Regions from separate parts of the Homo sapiens genome. Here region 1 is linked to region 2. Evidence: promoter capture Hi-C in 16 types of primary human blood cells and fetal thymus (Javierre and others, 2016). All regions are on one chromosome and are shown on one strand. The core of a region is centred on a gene start or on the middle of the fragment in contact, and the rest is flanking DNA. Distances in the headings are between cores, read along the strand shown. Region 1 overlaps ANKRD17 (ankyrin repeat domain 17). Region 2 holds the start of NOA1 (nitric oxide associated 1).

Region 1 (2,700 bases), core at 107-2,606, about 16 Mb after region 2:
CAAGTACAGATGAAGCTGGACATCCTGGCTTTAGATGACAAAAGAATAAGAACGGGTATGAGAGTTATTATTACACTTAACAATATAAACATTTTTATTTTCATAAAATTTCCTACTTTCTTAAAGCAAAAATATATCAAATACTATACCCAGAACAATCTGAACTTAATCAAAATTAAAGGATGGAAATATCTGTGAAGATTTCTTATTACTAAGACTCCTAAAACTGGCTCAATTATAAATAATAACACTAAATATACAGTAACCAAGTTTCTGAAATGATCTCTCAGTTGTTTCATGTTTTCATATAAAAAAGCCAACATATAAACCACAGGTTTATATACACAGCCCTTGGCCATGTAAATTTGGGATATAAAATTGGAAGACATTTTTCCTCTTATTGATCATTCTAAGTAGTACAATCTATTGTTACACATAATTTTACAGGAAGGTCATCAAAATTCTAAAATTATAATCATGTCTCAGGAAAACATAAACAGAACAAGAAAAGAGGTATTTATATGAGCTGTCAGCCCTTTTTCTGCCATCTGTATATGGCTACTTTCCTGAGTATTAGTTCCTTTTACAGAAGGTAGGCAGAAGGAACGGAAATACTTTGATGCCTTTGGTTTGGAGAAGAAAATTACTGCCTGGATTATTTGAATAAATGAAATAGCCAAGACACTCTATTTAATCCCTTACCTTGGACTGTTGAAAAGCAATGATGTAAGTTGAAATCCACCTTTTCTAATTTTATTATACATTTTAGAGAGTATTTTACTTAAGATTTTAAAGGTCTAAATAGTCAACTTAAATATATGTGGGCATATATAATCAGTAATCACAGTTTAAAAGGTAAGCCATAGTATTATGAGAAATCATTTGTGTTATGTTCACTAATGATATTGACTTTTGTTAACTAATATTCAATAAGAGTACCTTTAAGAAGTTTATGATTCAAAAGATCAAGTTACAAAGACAGGAAAAAAAGAGTCTAATATTTATTCAATGCAAATAAGCATAATCTACATAAAATTCCGTATGTTCAATAAATAAAATCACAAAGGTGAAAATTACGGTAATGAACTTCAAGTAGCTCAATATTAAGTACAATAATAAAACTGTCACTGTGGTATACAGATGAACTTCATTATCCATTACTGGACATTTATTCAAGGAGTTATCCCTGTGGGGGGTAGAGGGCTAGGGAATATATTTTTCTGGAAAGCTCATTATGTAATAAATATCTGTTTACTTGCAATATGAGGTGCTTTAGAAAATGGTACATTTATCTGCAAAGTTAGCAAATTTATTCTTTGCACTCTGTATTTTTAGCACTGTGTCATTATGAGTACTTATAACTTTGGATAAGGCTCTTTTATTACTACTTAGAAAATGTTACCAAGATTGACAAATATTTAAGTCAAATGATATTTTAAATAAAGAGAAAAAGCTACTTATTTAGTATGATAGGATGCAACAGGTACATAGAAACTAAATTAAGATAAATTGAGAATTAGGAAAACTAAAATTGCAGAGGTTGTTTTAATAACTAGCAACATTGAATAAATAAGGTAACATGAAATCTTAACATGGTATTAAACAATTGAGATAATAAAAAGCCAGTTGTTCAGGTAGCATTAAAAAAACCTATGCATAAAGCACAAAACAGTGCTCAAGTAGGATTTCCTCAGAACATAAATAAGACTTCTAAAATCTGTTATATGCTGAAGTTTTAAATGGCTAAGAAAAATTGTCAAATAGATTTATCAAAATCTCCAAAGCACACTTCTTTAAAATCCAAACCAAAAAATTTTAAAAGCAAATTAAAATGTAACACTAGAACTCTGTAATCTAATTAGGCTTATTTAAACTGAACCACTAAAAAGTCATGTGGCCACTTGTAATTACTAAACTCCTTTGATGAAAGTTTATACTACTATTTCTAAGTAGATAATTTTACCACACATTTTTAAGGAAACTCACTAATAGAAACAAAGTAAAAAATAAAAGAGAAAAGAATAAAAATTAACCACAATTCAACTTAGACCTAACAGCTTTTAGGAAAGGGGAAAAGAGCACATTGGCAGGTGTCTGCAAGGAGGTAGGTAATAAATGGAATCAGTTTTCATTCTGCAGAACAACCATGAGACTTGCTGCAATGTCAGCTCCAAGCACACACTGAGGGACTCCAGAAAATACTCATTGATCATGCAGCACTTTATAATGCGCATAGGCTTTTTTCTCCTGCTAACCCCGCCTAGCTTCCCTTTGCAGCTTCTTCTCCCAAGCCCTCTCCCCACAGTAAAATAATCTTCCTGAAGATGTGAAATAGTTAATAAATTATCTCAACAGTCTAAGTATTAGGAATACCACTCACCACCATAAAGCCTCTTTATCTGAATTACCCAGGTTTTATCTAATGAGGAAAAAAAAGAAAAACCCTACACAATCCCACAGATAAGAATATGAGATTTAAATACCTATACCTATAAATACAAATTTCTAATAGTATACTACATTCAATGCCAAAAGCAATTATAGTTTCACTTTGACATGTATTTCCTTGGACTGATTTATACTCAAATAGGATCTTATAAAATTTTTACAACCAGAAAAGAGAAAATATAATTTAAAATGTTCATGATTCAAATTATAGTAATTTTGTATTGATGTCTCTCTAGCATCAGTGCCCTAAAT
Region 2 (2,719 bases), core at 24-2,523:
GTACAGGCAGCCCGCAGTGGACATTAAGGGAGGATGTACTCGGTGCCTCGGCCAGGACCAGACGTCCACCTTGCCAGGAAACGAAGAGGGCGAGCCTCCTAAAACTCACCTGGCCAAGGGGAGATGGTGGCTCTGTCGATGGCCTCGGAGCCCTTGGCAGTGCAGTAATCGGACTCCAGGAGCGTGTTAAAGAGAGTGGATTTGCCGGCGTTGGTGGCGCCCACTAAGTAGACGTCCCCACGGTAGCGCCAGGAGCGCTGAAGGGCAGAGATCAACTCTTCCACTCCATAGCCGGTCTTGGCGCTGATCAGCCGCACGTCCCTGACCACTGTGCGGGACCAGTTCGGCGGATTCGGATTCTCCCCGTCCTGTGGCTCGTCCTTGACGGGGCGCTGTGGCCCTTGGTGGCCAGGGGCCAGCAGGAGCCCGGCGCGGGCACAGTCCTCCCACAGTCGCTCCCGCAGCCTCTGCCGGTAGCCAGGAGCATCCTGGGGCAGGAGGTCCACTTTGTTTCCCAGCACGATCAGCTGCTTGGGGCCCACCAGCGCGGGCAAGTCGGGCAGCAGGGCGTCGGGCAGGTCCAGCAGGTCCACCATGTAGAGCACCAGGGAGGGGCCGGGCCGCCGCAACGCGGCGCTCACCAGCTCCAGGTACTGCTCGCGGCTCACCTGCAGGCGTAGAGCGCGCCGGTGGTGCGACAGCAGCCAGCAGCGCTGGCACACGGTCCGTGCCAGCCCGCCGTCTGCCTCCGCCGTGCGGAGGAACTTCTCTCGGGGCAGGTAGCCGGGCACTCCGGCGTCCTGGCAGTGCAGCTCTGCCCCACAGCCCGAGCAGTTCACGCCGCTGGGCGGCAATGCCGGGTCCGGGTGCCCCACGACCGGGTGCTCCCGGGACCTGGCCCGTAGGTTTTGCTGTCGCCGCTCCTCCCGCCGCTGCTGCCTCTGTCGCTCCTCCTCCTCCTGCTGTTGCTGGAGCTCCTGCAGCTGCTTTTCGCGGGTGGGTTGCGGCTCCGGATCCAGGATGTACTCCGGGAACAGAAAACGCTCCTGCATGTCACCACCTTCTCCAAAGCCCTCCGTGTCCACGGGGTCATAAGGAAGCTCGCGTCCCAGACTCGATGAGTGCTGGAAGGAGGAGGCGGCAGCGCACCTCCTCTCCAGGAGCGGCTCCCGGAGGCCATGGCGCGCTGCCGTGGGAGCGGATCCACGAAGGAAAAGGCTCAGCAGCCTGAACGGTAGGCGAGCGGGCAGCATGAGGAAGTAGCTCCAAAGGGGCGGAGCCACCAGCGCGCACGCGCACTAGGGTCCGAGGCGCGCATTTGACCCGAGACGAAAGCGCGTGGGTACTTGGGAGCTGTCCTGGTTGGTTTTGCGTCTAATCCCGTCAGTTCTCGCGATTTAAGCTCTGAGACTGAGAACCTACTTAAAGCTATGGCAAAGGCACTGGAGGATTGAGCTAGGTGGGCAGAAAAGAGCAGTGAGTGTTTTGGGTTTTTTCACTTTCAGGCTTAACGCCTCACTGCTAGCACAAGCCGCCCTTAATAAATCACACTTAAAAAGGAGCTTCCGGGGTCGGGCGCGGTGGCTCACGCCTGTAATCCCAGCAATTTGGGAGGCCGAGGCGGGCGGATCATGAGGTCAGGAGATCGAGACCATCCTGGCTTACACGGTGAAACCCCCATCTCTGCTAAAAATACAAAAAATTAGCCAGGCGTGGTGGCGGGCGCCTGTAGTCCCAGCTACTCGGGAGGCTGAGGCAGGAGAATGGCTTGAACGCGGGAGGCGGAGGTTGCAGTGAGCCGAGATCGCGCCACTGCACTCCAGCCTGGGCGACAGAGCGAGCCTGTCTCAAAAAAACAAAACAAAACAAAAACAGAAAGGAGCTTCCGGCCGGGCGCGTGGCTCACGCCTGTAATCCCAGCACTTTGGGAGGCCGAGGCGGGTGGATCACCTGAGGTCAGCAGTTCGAGACCAGCCTGGCCAACGTGGTGAAACCCCGTCTCTACTAAAAATACAAAAATTACCCGGGCGTGGTGACCCTTGCCTGTAATCCCAGCTATTTGGGAGGCCGAGGCAGGAGAATCGCTTGAACCCGGGAGACGGAGGTTGCAGTGAGCCGAGATCGCTCCACTGCACTCCAGCCTGGGCGACAGAGCGAGACTCCATTTCAAAAAATAATAAATAAATAAAAATAAAAAATAGCTTCGTGTTTTGGTCCTTATAAAGGCAAATAAATTGAGCATCCCAATGTTGCGGATTCACAGGACGAACACTTTTTAATAATAAGTATACCTGGTTTTGTTTTCAGGTGTCGTTATTTGTGCAACAACATTGAAAAACAAGCAGAAATAAAACATTGACGGAACGGATACGACCGCAGATTGCGGGAGCTGTCCTCTCAATCAGCCCGGCAGCGGCGGCCCACAATTTACGCGTGTGCAACCCTAACCCCGGCCCAAGCTTGACCTACAATTTGCGCAGGCGCAGATCCTAACTTTGGCGTCCCTGTGGGCGGCCTTTGGTGTGAGACGCGTGGTATTCTGGGAACGTCGGAGACGGAAGTTACTTCGTCTTTAGCTCCTGGCGCTGCTGGCTTCTGGGCGGTTTTTGTCTTTTGATTTCAAGAGTTAGGAGCTCGAGAACCGTTTGGCAATATGTACGACGCGGATGAGGGTAGGTGAACGCTCAAAACACACGCCGTGGCGGTCCATTTAAGCAGG

Evidence for each region. The method cuts DNA at HindIII sites, captures the fragments that hold promoters and counts their contacts. A CHiCAGO score of 5 or more calls a contact.
Region 1: a fragment that was not itself captured here is called in contact with the fragment with the promoter of NOA1 in region 2 in 1 of 17 cell types (total B cells); the score reaches 5.3 in total B cells.

The regions. Positions count from the first base shown.
Region 1 is chr4:73,219,715-73,222,414 of GRCh38, forward strand. The region is part of intron 1 of ANKRD17 (ankyrin repeat domain 17); the gene reads right to left. Among named protein-coding and RNA genes, the nearest start is that of ANKRD17, 38 kb to the right of the region's middle. The HindIII fragment of the contact is 3,013 bases long and covers 1-2,700 here.
Region 2 is chr4:56,976,333-56,979,051 of GRCh38, forward strand. It overlaps NOA1 (nitric oxide associated 1), which reads right to left and starts at 1,274. Exons shown (of 7, transcript NM_032313.4): 1 at 110-1,274. The coding sequence starts at 1,253. POLR2B (RNA polymerase II subunit B) reads left to right here and starts at 2,564. Exons shown (of 25, transcript NM_000938.3): 1 at 2,564-2,672. The coding sequence starts at 2,654. RefSeq lists enhancers at 507-566, 947-1,016 and a silencer at 767-846. The HindIII fragment of the contact is 14,072 bases long and covers 1-2,457 here.